2 separate regions of the Homo sapiens genome follow, and region 1 is linked to region 2. Evidence: promoter capture Hi-C in human tissues and cell types (Jung and others, 2019). All regions are on one chromosome and are shown on one strand. Each heading gives the region's core, a stretch centred on a gene start or on the middle of the fragment in contact. The rest is flanking DNA. Distances are from core to core; before and after follow the strand shown.

Region 1 (7,178 bases), core at 2,449-4,948, 210 kb before region 2:
TGGTCCCTATGGTCTTCATGGTTGCACCACCTGCATCTACAGATGAAATCATGTGATCAAGGGAACTGCCACATTTTTGCACCCACAACAATTGGTTCATAGACGGGGACATCACCCAGTCAGATCCTATGAAACACCGTGAGAATCCTGGGTCCCTCAGTCTTTCCCACCAGACTGACTCTGAGAAGATATAAGAAGTTGATAAAGCTGTCTTGCACTTATTAGGCAGAGTCTATTGCAAAAGGAACTAACATGGGTAAGAACGGAACTGAAAGAAACCGGGTTCTGGTGACACTGTGAGTTCCTGCGTTAGGCAAGGCCTAAAGCAAGAATTATTCTTGGAATTTTGTTTAAGCCAGTTTGGATCCAATTTGCAACTGAAAAAGTAATGGACACATGAGCAATTCTTACACTTGTCTTAGGATATTTCACCAGAAATAAATTAGTGTCTTATTCTGTCCCAGTTTAATTACTCACCAAGACTGCCATCATGTTCCCCCAAATGCAAAAAGCCTTGTTGCTGAAAAAGAAAAAAACAAGCAGCCACGTCACGGAGGAAGAATGCAGATTCTGGGTCTTGTCACATATTTGGCACAATTTGTGAGCCCCTCACCATTTTATAGAAGTTAAGGGATGAGAGATTAAGGCCAAGTCTCCGCCATAGAAATATTGAACATGTTTTGTTTTTTAGGGAGAGTGATTCCATTCATTCATTCCACAGATACTCTTTTTTTTTTTTTTTTTTTTTTTTTTGACAGAGTCTTGCTTTATCTCCTAGACTGGAGTGGAATGGCATGATCTCGGCTCACTGCAACCTCCGCCTCTCGGGTTCCAGCGATTTTCCCGCCTCAGCCTCTGGAGTAGCTGGGATTATAGGTGCCTGCCACCACGCCCAGCTAATTTTTTTTTTTTATTTTTAGTAGAGACAGGGTTTCACCATGTTGGTCAGGCCGGTCTCAAACTCCTGACCTCAAGTGATCTGTCCACCTCGGCCTCCCAAAGTGCTGGGATTACAGGCGTGAGCCACCGCACCTGGCCGTTCCACAGATATTCACTGAGCATTCATATTATGCCAGGTAATAAATTAGGACGTGGGGTGACAAGTGCACAGACGTGGTCCTCACCTTCAGAGAATCTACCTTTAGGCCTCTAGATCCCTTACCTAAATTGTGCTGACAGTATAAATTTGCACAGATGGTAAATTACTTGTCAGTCACTTCTGTCAAGATCACAATTTCCAACATAAGTGGTATTTGCGTTAAGGTGGATTTACTGTTCATCTGTATTTTCAGGACACTCAGGAAGCAAGCAAGGCTTTGGAATTAGAGCAGGGTTTCATGTATCTTTATATTCTCTTGGTAAGAATGAAATTGATTAAATCTTTTTAAGGGAATGATATAGCAATATCTATTAACATTGTCATGTACGTGCTTTGTGGCAGAAATATTCACAAAAAATAACTTTTTAATTTTTTTTTTTTTTTGACACGGAGTCTTGCACTGTTGCCCAGGCTGGAGTGCAATGGTGTGACCTTGGCTCACTGCAATCTCCACCTCCTGGGTCCAAGTGATTTCCTGTGCTTCAGCCTCCCAAGTAGCTGGGATTACAGATGTGCACCACAACACCCAGCTAAGTTTTCTTGTTTGTTTGTTTTTGTTTTTTATATTTTTACTAGAGATGGGTTTCACCATGTTTGCTGGGCTGGTCTCGAACCCCTGACCTCAAGTGATAAGCCCGCCTCGGCCTCCCAAAGTGCTGGGGATCACAGGAGGGAGCCACTGTGCCCAGGGTAATTTTTTTTAGAGAGAGGGTCTTGTTCTGTCTCCCAAGCTGGAGTGCGGTGATGGGATCATAGCTCACTGTAGCCTCAAACTCCTGGGTTTGAGCAGTCCTCTCACCTCAGCTTCCTGAGTAGCTGAGGCTACAGTTGCATGCCACCGTGCCTAATTATTAAAATTTTTTAAGGGATGGGGTCTCGCTATGTTGGTCTTAAACTCCTGGCCTCAAGCAGTCCTCCCCTCCCACCTCAGCCTCCTGAGTAGCTGCGATTATAAACGCACAAAAAATAATTGTAACAAAATGTTTCATTACCTACTGTTTTAAGTATTTAAAAACATAGAAACAACCCAAATATCCAAATATGTACAGAATTAAACATCGTTCAAGATATAGTATTTAGTGGTGGGCTGCGGGGGAGGGAAGTTATGATACTATTTGTATAATATAGCCTCACTTTTGTAATAAACAAGTAAATTAAAGTGTTGGTAGATACAGGTATGTTTGCAGATGCCTAGGGAAATAGATTTGCAAGAATAGACACTGAAGTAGGCCGGGCGCGGTGGCTCACGCCTGTAATCCCAGCACTTTGGGAGGCCGAGGCGGGCGGATCACGAGGTCAGGAGATCGAGACCATCCCGGCTAAAACGGTGAAACCCCGTCTCTACTAAAAATACAAAAAATTAGCCGGGCGTAGTGGCGGGCGCCTGTAGTCCCAGCTACTTGGGAGGCTGAGGCAGGAGAATGGCGTGAACCCGGGAGGCGGAGCTTGCAGTGCGCCGAGATCCCGCCACTGCACTCCAGCCTGGGCGACAGAGCGAGACTCCGTCTCAAAAAAAAAAAAAAAAAAAAAGAATAGACACTGAAGTATTCATAGTGAGATGAGATTTCAGGGCCCTTTTCATCTCAGTGGGATCTACTTCTGTATTATCGGGGTTGTGAAAAACAAGCGTGCAAGTTCCATGAGGGCGGGGGCTTTGTTTTGTTCACCGTAACCCCAGCACCTAGAAAAAGTACAGGCATGAAAAGTGCTGAAAAAATGAATATTACTTTTTTTTGAGACAGAGTGCCACTCTGTCACCTAGGCTGGAGTGCAGTGGCATGATTTTGGCTCACCGCAACCTCCACCTCCTGGGTTCAAGCAATTCTTCTGCCTCAGCCTCCCAAGTAGCTGGGGCTACAGGTGCGTGCCACCACACCCAGCTAACTTTTGTATTTTTAGTAGAGACAGGGTTTCACCATATTGGCCAGGCTGGTCTCAAACTCCTGACCTCTTGATCCACCCGCGTAGGCCTCCCAAAGTGCTGGGATTACAGGCGTGAGCCACTGCACCTGGCCATGAATATTACTTTTTAAGTAAAAACCACAGAAATACTTAAGACAGAGAGTGAAGGGCCCTTCCATGATCCCAAGAGCTTGGTCTGTAGTTCTCTGACGCGCTTTTTACATGGAGGCAAGCTCGTGTCCCAGGGGTCCCCAAGGCAGCCTCCAGACTCACCTCCACCTCTCTCCTTTCCAGAACAAGTGAGCTGGGGTTTGCTTTCTTCTCCATATCCTGCAGCTTGATCAATTTTTCTATCAGGAACATTTTATCTTTGCCCTCCTACCAAGAAGGAAAACAAAACCAGAAAGAAACAAAAATATGAATGAATGATGGTATGGAATTGAGAAAGCAATTGATGGGAAGAACGTCGGTTTTCAGGCAGCTAGGATCCTAGAAGTTGGATGGAGGTTACTGCCATCTTTTGGTGAAAGAAAAGAAACATTTCACAGTAAAACCAAATTATCCCCCAGAGCCTTCCTGCACTGTAATATTCTCCTCTAAAGCAATTCCCCTAACAGGCTTGAGAAAGTAGCCTCCAGAAGTCGGCTGCTGGAAGCAACTTACATGCCACGTCTCAATACCCAGGAAAAATGGTTTCCAGTATCCCCCATAGGCACGTGCCCCAGAGCAAGACTCCATGTCAAAACAAAAAAAAAAGATATATGTAGGATATGGAAAATATGAAACAGATGACCTGCATTCTTTAACAATAAAAAGAAAAGAGGAAGTGGGGAGGGGAAGTGGTAAATGGTTATAGAGTAAAAGAAAGTTAGGCATATTGGCTGGGCGCAGTGGCTCACGCCTGTAATCCCAGCACTTTGGGAGGCCAAGGCAGGTGGATCACTTGAGGTCAGGAGTTTGAGACCAGCCTAGTCAACATGGTGAAACCCCGTCTCTACTAAAAATACAAAAATTAGCTGGGCGTGGTGGCACACACCTGTAATCCCAGCTACTCAGGAGGCTGAGGCAGGAGAATCACTTGAACCCAGGAGGCAGAAGTTGCAGTGAGCCAAAATCATGCCACTGCGTTCCAGCCTGGGAGACACAGTGAGATTCTGTCTCAAAAAAAAAAAAAGAGAGAGAGAGAGAGAGAGACATTAACCAAATGCAACATGTACCCCCTTTTCAGATCCTGATTTGTGCAGTTCTAGTATAAAAAGACACTTAAGGGGACAGTTGGGGAAATGTAAACATTGGATATAAGATGATAATAATAAATTATTGTTAAGTTTTTTAAGTGTGATGATGATATTGTAGTTATTTTTAAAAGTCTTTATCTCAGCTGGGGGCGATGGCTCACACCTGTAATCTTAGCACTTTGGGAGGCCGAGGCGGGCGGATCACCTGAGGTCGGAAGTTTGAGACCAGCCTGACCAACATGGAGAAACCCCATCTCTACTAAAAATACAAAATTAGCCGGGTGTGGTGGCAGGCGCCTGTAATTCCAGCTATGCGGGAAGCTGAGGCAGAAGAATTGCTTGAACCCGGGAGGCGGAGGTTGCAGTGAGCCAAGATTGCTCCACTGCACTCCAACCTGGGCAACAAGAGTGAAACTCTGTCTCAAAATAAATAAATAAATGAAATAAAAGTATTTATCTTATAGAGAGATATATATATATATATATCTAAGTTTTAATAAATAAAAAATAATATAAAGCCTAAGATTTGCTTTAAAATAATCCAGGGAGCCAGATGGAGTGGCACCTGCCTGTAATCTCAGCTACTCCGGAGGCTGAGGCAGGAGCCCAGGAATTTGAATCCAGCCAGGGCAACATAGCAAGACCCCCACCTCTAAAAAAATAAAATAAGGCTGGGTGTGATGGCTGTAATCCCAGCACTTTGGGAGGCAGGTGGATCACCTGAGGTCAGCAGTTCGAGACCAGCCTGGCCAACATGGTGAAACCCTGTCTCCACTAAAAATTCAAAAATTAGCTGGGCATGGTGGCAGGCACCTGTAATTCCAGCTACTTGGGAGGTTGGGGCAGGAGAATCGCTTGAACCCTGGAGGCAGAAGTTGCCGTGAGCCGAGATTGCACCACTGCACTCCAGCCTGGGCAACAAGAGCAAAACTCTATCTCAAAATAATAATAATAATCATCATAATTAAAATAAATAAATACTAAGAATAAAAATAAGGGATTTGCTGGGAAGAGAAAGTGTAGATGAAATAAGAATATAAAAACATTGATGGTTGTTAGGGCTGAGAGCAGGGATATGAGAGTTCATTGTAGTATTCTCTTTATTTTGGAGGATGTTTATACAGCGTTTAAAAAGGGTGAGGGCGGACATCAGAGGGATCCAAGGGGACTTACATTAATGATCTGCTCATGGAGCAGCCTTATCATAATCTTCCTTCCCTCTGTGATCTGCCAGTAAAGATAGGTGATGATTCTGGAAGAGGAGAAAAGAAAGAATGACACTCTTGCAAATGTTTTGCAGGCTCTGAATTTCCACTGGATGCAAAGGAACTGGAATCTGTGCTTGCAGATGGATTTGGCCCAAACATGTTTCTGAAAAGTCATGTCAGGGAGAGTTATAGGTTAAATACATTGGAACAATGGTTCCTGAAGGGGGAAATAAGCCCATGCCACAGCTCCTCTTCAGACCAATTAATTGAGCATCTCTGGGCATGTCATCTCCTTAAGAGGAGAAAAGCAGGTATTGCTTTCTTAATAGAATAAGTTAAAAAAAAAGTCCCTAAGATGACCCAGCACGGTGGCTCATGCCTGGAATCCCAGCACTTTGGGAGGCCAAGGCGGGCGGATCACTTGAGGTCAGGAGATCGAGATCATCCTGGCTAACACAGTGAAACCCTGTCTCTATTAAAAATGCAAAAAATTAGCTGGGCGTGGTGGTGGGTGCCTGTAGTCCCAACTACTCGGGAGGCTGAGGCAGGAGAATGGCATGAACCCAGGAGGCGGAACTTGCAGTGTGCTGAGATCGCGCCAGTGCACTCCAGCCTGGGTGACAGTGCGAGACTCTGTCTCAAAAAAAAAAAAAAAAAAAATCCCTAAGACAAGAAGATAGTATATATAACCTTTCCCCCCTTCCCCCAGTGATGGGGTCTTGCTCTGTTGCCCAGGCTGGAGTGCAGTGGCACGATCAGAGAACACTGCAGCCTCAAACTCCTAGGCTCAAGCAATCCTCCCATCTCAGCTTCCCAAGAAGCTCAGACTACAGGCACAAGCCACTGCACCAGGCTAAGTAACTTCAAAAAAACTATCAATGCAAGCTTGGGCAAGGTGGCTAACACCTGTAATCCCAACACTTTGAGAAGCTGAGGCAGGAGGATAATTTGAGGCCAGGAGTTTGAGACCAGCCTGGGCAACACAGGGAGACCCCATTTCTCCAAAAAATTTAAAAATTAGCCAAGTGTAGTGGTGCACACCTGCAAGCCCAGCTACTTGGGGGCTGAGGTGGGAGGATGGCTTGAGCCTGAAAGGTTGAGGTTGCAGCAAGCCATGACCATGCCGCTACAGTCTAGCCTGAGTGAGAGATCATGACCCTGTCTCAACCAAAAAAGAAAGAGAGAAGTAAGGAAGGAAGGAAGGAAGGAGAAGGGGAAGGGAAGGGAAGGGAGGGGAAGGGGAAAGGAAGGGAAGGGAGGGGAAGGGAGAAAGAAGGGGAAGGGAAGGGAGGGGAAGGGAGAAAGAAGGAAGGAAGGAAGGAAGAAAAAATGAAGAGGAAAGGAACGGAACTGAAAGGAAAGGGAAGGGAGAAAGGGAGAAAGAGAGGGAGGGAGGGGAAGGGAAGAGAAGAGAAAAGAAAAAAAGGAAGGGAAGGAAGGAAGGAAGGAAGGAAGGAAGGAAGGAAGGAAGGAAGGAAGGAAAGAAAACTACCTATGCAAGGGTAGAGTCACCCAGAACACTGAGCTATGCTATAGCCATTTGCTTTCCAACCAAACATCCCTACTGCTGTTTCCCTCGAGAGCTCCTGGCTTTCCCTGCTAGATTCCCCGGGTACCACACTCACAGCACAATGAGGGTGAGGATGAAAAAGAAGTGCACACTTCCAATGAGGTTCCGATAGATCCAAACAACCCACAGGTAGCCAGGCCGTGTACTTAGGGTGTCGATCC
Region 2 (7,736 bases), core at 1,620-4,119:
CAAGTCTCTAAGAGATGTCTAAAAAGTTTTTTTTCCTCCAAAACATAGGGGGTGGCTGAGTTGTGCTATTTGCGTATATTTGCATATGCAAGGGGTGGGTGATGAAAGGTCTGGAGTAGTGGGATGAATGACCCATGACCTGTGCCCTGTTATGCATTGTACCTAAAGGCTGGGGGTCCACAGAAGAAGATGAAAAACCAAGCCTATTCTCAATAAGGAGGACCTTGGAGGTACATGTATTCTCATGGTCGGCCGGGGCCCACAGAGACCCCTAAATCCTCCCTACAACATACCAACACACACGCTCCTGCCCATATGCACCCATAAACTCACACACATTCCCTCTGTGTTGAAATCACTTTCCTCTAGAGAATCTATCTGCATAGGCTGAAACTGGGCTTCCTGTAGGGCTGGGAGCCTGGGAAGCAGTTGAACTGCCACTTGGACAGTGATGACCATGGTTGGCTCAATTGGCCTCTGTAGCCTCAGTTTCCATAGCCTTAATATGGAAAGGTTGGGCTGAGTGGATCTTTAAGACCCATCCTTCCATTTCCAAACTGCGAGCTCTCCCAGGTAGCTGAGATTGACACAATCTCAGTCCCCTTATCTATAGAGTAGGGATGAGGCTTGGGGACTGATGTTCAGAAGTTCCTTTCAATGTTGAAGACTTTTGTCAGAATAGAAAACTGTCTCCTGGCCAATTCTAGTATAACATCAACAACCACAGTGGCAAACATAGTAATGGCAATAACTCATTTTTTAAATGCTTCCTATGTGCTAAGCACTTCACCTGCACGAGCTCATTGAAGATCTCCAAAACCCTTGATAAGGACCCTTGTTATCCCCACTTGGGGCTCAGAGAGGTGAGGAAACTTGAGTCTCAGAGAGGTCCCATGGGCACAAGCTAGTGAAGGACAGAAAATACCCCTAGTTACTCCCGCTTTCAAACTCAGTCTTGGCCCCTTCCCACTTTTGCTGGGCAGAAAGGCAAGATCTTGGGATATACGAGGCGCAGTCTGCAAGGATATTTTGTTCAACTTCTTTCCTACTTGCTTATTGTATTGGTGAGGAAACTGAGGTCCGAGAGTAAGGAGGCAAGTCACTGCTATGAATGGAATGTCTGTGTCTCTCCTCTTCCCTGCCCCCAATTCATATGTTAAAGCTCTGACTCCCAATGTGATGGTATTGGGAGGGGGGACCTTTGGGAAGTGATTAGATTTAGATGGGATCCCATCCTTATGATGGGATTAGTGTGCTTATAAGAGGAAGAGACCAGAGCTTTCTCTTACTCTGCCATGTGAGGGTACAGTGAGAAGGCGGCCATCTGCAAGCCAGGAAGAGAGTCCTCACCAGGAATAAAATCTGCTGGCATCCTGATCTTGAACTTCCCAGCCTCCAGAACTGTGAGAAATAAATGTTTGTTGCTTAAGCTCCCCAGTCTGTGATATTCGCAGCCTGAGCTGATGAATACACTCAGAGAGTTTAGGACAGAACTGAAACCCCTTGCCCAAATGAGCTAAGACTATCCCTTATTGTTACCACTAGGGATGCTAGATTAACAAAAAAAAAAAAAAAAAAGAAGGATACCTAGTTAAATTTGATTTCAGGTAAACAAACAGATAATTTTTAGTATAAATACGTCCCATGTAATATTTGGGGCATGCTTACACTAAGAAATAATTTATTAATATTTATTTATTGGTATTTTATCTGACAACCCTATCAACCCTCTGTTTAAAGTCACTCTAACACTATCACAACCCAATAATTTGGCCTTATGAGAATCTCCATCTAGGTATTTCATTATTAGTTTTACTTGAACGGGGATTTAAAAATGATATCTCTGCCACTGCTATGATAAATAAATCCATATATGAACATAAACAAGCCTGGAAAGAACCTGGTAGAGGTGACAGTCAAGACTCTTGGCCACCAAATTATAGGATTCAGAACTCTTCTCATCCAGATGAGGGTCCCCCAGAATCAGTAACCCAGCCTTCCTATTGCAAAGTGGAAGAAGTTGAGCTCATTTGAAGACCCTCACCCTCCATATGGGACACTGGGAGGCCACATGCCCAAGGCTGACAGGTTCTCATCCCTGGGGATGCCCCACAAGGCTGGGGGTTGCTGGGCCAGGCCTCCAGGGAGGCCATTAGAGGGACAAGTCTCCCTCCCTGCGCACCTAACCTCTGGTGGCACTGCAGCAGCTCTGAAAGCTCCCTGGGAAGGCTGTCACAGCCAAGGTGGGGTTGGGGCCCAGATGCCAAATCCCTCACAAAACTACCATGTTCAGATCTTCCTGTAGTGCCAGACACTGTGCAAAGCACTTTCCTCATGTTATCTTATCTGCCTTGCACAGTAGCCCAAAGAGAATGCCATTGCGACCCAACTTTCTAGAAGAAGCTGAGGCTCAGAGAGATCAAGAAACTTCCTCTATGTCACACAGCTTGTAAACTGCAAAACTGGGATTCAAACCCAGGACTTTTTGTGTCTGGGCCTAGAAGAGTGCCCATGACAAAGCTGGTAGGGGGAAAGCTGTCAGGAGACTCGGGTCAGGCCACCCCAACCCCCCAACAGAAGCTGCCAGGCCTCACCGATAGAATAAGTTCCTGAGAGTGTACTCCTCTCCACCTGCTCCCAGCCCTGGTCCCTGCACTTACCTGGACTGATACTGATGTCTGTTTGTGGAAAGGCCTGTGCAGAGTGGAGGGTCAGGAAGGCTGCAGCCCACAGTGTCCACCTTTGCATCCTGAGCTCCTAGAAAGCAACCTCCCAGCCTGAGTGGAGGAGAGAGGCTTTTTGGCTGGAGCTTGGGTCCAGGATTGCTCTCCTAGGGTCAGATGGAGCCTGGCAGGAGCTGGGACAGACTGGATGGACTCCAGTCCCCTCCTCTTTTCTTCCTTTTCTCCTCCCTCCTCTTCACACTGTTGGAGACAGCTCAGAATGACAGCTGAAAGCAAAGCAGCCTAGGCCAGCCCCCCTCAAAGAACCAAGAGACATTTTAGCTCCCAAGCTTGCCTCTGAACCAAGACAAAATTTAGCTCTCAGTCTTGTCTCTGAGTCACGCTGTGGCCTTGGGTGTGCACTTCTCTGAGACTCAGTTTCCCCCTCTGTAAAATGGGATGGTAACGAAACTCACATTCCAGCCTGTCACAGGAGACAAAGCATCTCACCTCCCTCAGAGTAGATATGTACTGGAAGGTAAAATTACTGCAAGTAAGCATTGAGCGCAGAGGTCTCCTGGGCCATGGATGTCATTTGTTTGGTCTGCAGAGTTTTAAATTCTAAAAAATTTGTTAAGGTATAAAACCAAGAGATGCTAGGTATAAGTCCGGATTTCTGCCTTCTATTGGAAAATCGGAAGACCTAACGAAACATAGCCCTCATTTCTACAGGGCAACAATTGCATGGAGCTGAGAAAGAGCATCTCTTTCAGCCAGGCTCTTTGAGCTTCGGTTCACCAAGGTCTCCACCCCATGGGTCTGATCCTGACAGCATCCACCGCTGAGGAAGCACCAGGAAGCCTGTGTGAGTCAGCCTCCTTTCCTCTCCCTTCACCTCTCAGGGTCTCTCAGGGTTCCTCCGGGGGTTAAAGGAGGCATCTGTAGAAGATTCAACAGAGTGTTGCACAGAATAAGTGCTCCACAAAGAGGTGCAAGTGTCATCACTAGTGCATAGCTCTACTGTGTGGCTTGCTCAGAATTCAATGTTTAAAAACCCCTAGTGTTTTCATTGGGATCTCATCGCTCTTTTGGAGAATCAATATTTCTAAAAACCACAGTCTTTCTCCCCCACTTTCTGTGTCCTTAGACAAGTCACTTTGCCTCTCTGAACCTCAGTTGCCTCCTCTGTAAAATGGGGGATAAGTAGAGTACCTACCTCACAAGGATTAAATGAAGTAATTTGTTTCTAAAACTTGGCATAGATGCTGGCAAGTAGTAGGTGCTCAATAAATGACAGCAACATTTGCTATTGTTGTCATTGATCTAGTGCAAGGCTTTCCTTGGCATCACCCACATCCCCTGCCCCTGCACTCCCTTATTCCTCTCCAGAAATGCTCTGCCAGGTGCCCTGACACCTCATGTGGCTGGCACTCACAGGGACTGGAATGTGTCTGTTTGGCTTCCAAGTCTTTCTGGAACACCTGCTGCTGTGCTTGTGAGAAATAACTTAACTTGTGCCCACACAGCTTGCCTTGCCTGCTGGCACTGGAGCTGAAAGTCTGCCAAGGTCTGACTCAGAATATGAGCACAGCTCAGGCTCAGCTTCAACCTACAGGATGCCTCCTCGGGTAGATCTGTTGCCTCAAAACTAGTGTACTGGTGCATATCCCAGAGCATGCACACTTACTTATTTATAAATGGGATATATTTATTACATGTTTATAAGTGATGTGCAGGTACGACTCACTGTACTAATATATTATTTCTGTTATAAAACACACACACCCACATTGGACATTATTAAAGGTTGATAAAAGATATAAATGTGGAAGAAAGTTTGGATATTTTCTCCCTACTCCCTATCATCTTGCAAGCTGAAATTTGGGGGCTCCTGCTGTCATGTTCCTGGGTGCTGCTTGGAATTTAAAAGTGTCTATCTTAGTCTGTTTTGTGCTGCTATACTAGAACACCTGAGACTGGTAATTTATAATGAACAGAATTTATTGGTTCACAGTTCTAGAGACAGGGAAGGCCAAGATCAAGGTGTTGGCATCTGGTGAGGGCTTTCTTGCTGAGTCATCATATGGTGGATAGTGAGAGGGTAAAAGAGAGATGAGTCACAGAGAGAGAGAGACAGAGCTTTTTAAAGAGGGGATGAACCCACTCCTGCCATACCTGAGCTACTCTTGTGATAACATCTTTGATCCATGTATGAGGGAAGAGCTCTTATAACCCAGACACCTCTTAAAAGTCCTGTAACCTCATCGGACCAGTCTAGTTCAACTTTTACGTAACAAAGTTGTGAGTTGTTTTTCATTTGCCATGGACCCTCAGATTGAAGGTCATGTAACCTGAGCATGCCCAGATGAACCAAGTGTGCAACCACAGGGGGAACCTAAGTGCTCAGACTGAGGAGCAGGGACTGAATTCAGAAGCAGACACTACATGGCAGGATCCAGAATCCAATCGGATTGAGCTCTGACGTTACCCCATGGCAGGATCCAATCAGGTCATGCCTCCCCACATCATCTCATTGCAAGATCCAATCAGATCATGCCTCATTACCCTATGCTTATAAAACCTGACCCAAACCCTAGCGTGGGGAGACAGATTTGAGCCTTTCCTCCTGTCTCCTTGCCAGCTGACTAGCAATAAAGCTTTTCTCTTCTTAAAAGCCAGTGCCATGATATTGGCCTCTGGGCACATTGGGTAGCAAGCCCATTGATTACTCAGTACCAGTCCCGCCTCCCAATATCATCACAATGACAATTAAATTTCAACTTGAGTTTTGGAGGGGACAGACATTCAAACCATAGCAATGTCTCTCTGGGTGTGGACACATTAAGTGGGAAGGAGAAGAGTGGTCCAAAGCAGGCCACTAGAAATCCTTCTAAAAAGTGGAGAATCCTTTGATTTGGCAAATAAACCTCCTAAATTATCTGTGTTGTATTTTGATGCCTGAAGGTTTTTATAAATCAGTTCATGTACCCTCTCTGAATGGAGACACACAAGATATTTGTTACTTGCTCAAACACAAGTATGGTCAATGGGCCAGCAGCACGGGGATCTCCTGGTAGCACATTAGAAATGCAGAATCTCAGGCCCCCCAAGACCTGCTGAATCAATTCTGCGTCCCAGGTGGGTTGTGTGTATATTAAAGTTTATGAAACCCTGCTCTGGACAGGGTAGGGAACTTTTTCTATAAAGAACCAGACAGGCCAGGCACAGTGGCTTATGCTTATATTCTAGCACTTTGGGATGCTGAGGTGGGAGGATTGCTTGAGGCCAGGAGTTTGAGGCCATCCTGGGCAACATGGTGAGACCCCATCTCTACTTAAAAAATAAAGTCTTAGCCAGGTGTGGTGGTGCACACCTGTAGTCCCAGCTACTTGGGAGGCTGAGGCAGGGGGTTCGCTTGGGCCCAGGAGCTTGAGGCTGCAGTGAGCCAAGATGGTGTCTGCACTTTAGTCTGGGTGACAGAGTGAGACTCTGTCAAAAAAAAAAAAAAAGAGGTAGACAGTAAATATTTTAGGACTTGTGGGCTACACAGCCTCTGTCACAACTACTCAACTCTGCCAGAAATACAGGACTGGACCAGGCAGTGTGCCAATAAAACTTTATTTACAAAAATAGGCAAGGGGCCAGATTTGGCCCACGGGCTGTCACCTGCCAATCCCTGTTCTAGACCTCAAGCTTTCTGGCCAGAAAGTAAACAATTTCTTCACTTAACAAATATGATCTTTGCTGTCATTTGGAGGTTGTAGGCGTCTCTTTGTTACACCGTATGTATTTTCTGGCTTCTTAAAGTTGTATTTATTGAGTGGTGGCCTATCTTTTCTCTCTCCCAATACATACACTGTGTTCATGGCATCTTGAAGTTCCATTAAGATTCTCCCTCTCTCTCTCTTTTATCTCTCTCCCTCTGTCTGTCTGTCTATCTAATCTCTATCATCTATTTATCTGTCAATCATCTATCTCCCTTAATTTATTAGCTTTTAAAAAATGTTGTTTATCAATTAAACAAAGTCCCTTACCCCTTCACCACAATTATAAAAGAGGCAATAGATGCCAGTTCATTTCATGGCTTTCAATTCAGATGCATTGTTGTTCAGACTCCAGACCTGTTGCTGTGTGATTATATGCTGATTACTTAACCCCTCTAATCCTCAGTTTTCTCAACTGCAAAATGGGAAGAAATCAATACTTCCCTCATACAAGTGGTTAGAAAAATGTTTGTCGCATGATAAGCATTCCATATATGTTAGCTACCTTTCAATCACTTTAGAACCTTCAAAAATACTGTATAGGAAAGTATCAAGTTGATGTGATGGTTGATTTTAGGTGTCAACTTGACTGGATTGAGGGATGCCTCAATCCCGGAGGTAGCGTTGTTTCTGAATGTGTCTGGGAGGGCATTGCCAGAGGAGATTGACATGGGAGTTTGTGGACTGAGAGAGGGAGACTTGCTCTCAGTGTGGGAGGACACCAAACAACTGGCAGGGAGCCAACTGGAAAAAATGGTCAGAAGGAGGGGGACTGGTCATCTCTCTGCTCTCCCTCTTCCTTCCAGAGTAGGACACTTTTTCTCTTTTTGCCTTTGGACATTGGATTCCAGGTTCAGCTTTAGGATTCTAGGGATTGCACCAGTGGCCTTTGGGGTCTCTTGAGTCTGACTGGAGGCTGCTCTGCTGGCTTCCCTGGTTATGAGGCTTTGGACTTGGACTGAGCCACACTCCCAGCTTTGAGCCACACTCCAGCTTCTCTGGTTTTCTAGCTTGTAGTTGGCCTATCCTGAGACTTCACCTCTGTGACTGTGTTTGCCAACTCCTCCTCAATAAATCCCCTTCCATCTATCCTACTGGCTGTCTCTCTGGAGAATCCTAATACAGATTTTGGTACCAGGAGGTAGTTCTAGAGAAACAATTTTTTTTTTTTTAGATGGAGTCTTGTTCTGTTGCCCAGGCTGGAGTGCAATGGCGCAATCTCGGCTCACTGCAACCTCTGCCTCCCAGGTTCAAGCGATTCTCCTGCCGCAGCCTCCCGAGTAGCTGGGACTACAGGCGCCCGCCACCA

The links. The method cuts DNA at HindIII sites, captures the fragments that hold promoters and counts their contacts. A contact is called where the count stands out against the background at its distance.
Region 1: a fragment that was not itself captured here is called in contact with the fragment with the promoter of CLEC19A in region 2 in 1 of the 25 tissues and cell types used here (heart left ventricle).

The regions. Positions count from the first base shown.
Region 1 is chr16:19,490,463-19,497,640 of GRCh38, reverse strand. TMC5 (transmembrane channel like 5) reads right to left here. Exons shown (of 22, transcript NM_001261841.2): 18 at 7,073-7,178; 19 at 5,413-5,491; 20 at 3,275-3,379; 21 at 478-520. Among named protein-coding and RNA genes, the nearest start is that of TMC5-AS1, 6.2 kb to the right of the region's middle. RefSeq lists a silencer at 920-1,131. The HindIII fragment of the contact is 8,195 bases long and covers 1-7,178 here.
Region 2 is chr16:19,280,864-19,288,599 of GRCh38, reverse strand. CLEC19A (C-type lectin domain containing 19A) reads right to left here and starts at 2,869. Exons shown (of 5, transcript NM_001256720.2): 1 at 2,661-2,869. The coding sequence starts at 2,748. The HindIII fragment of the contact is 9,003 bases long and covers 1-4,167 here.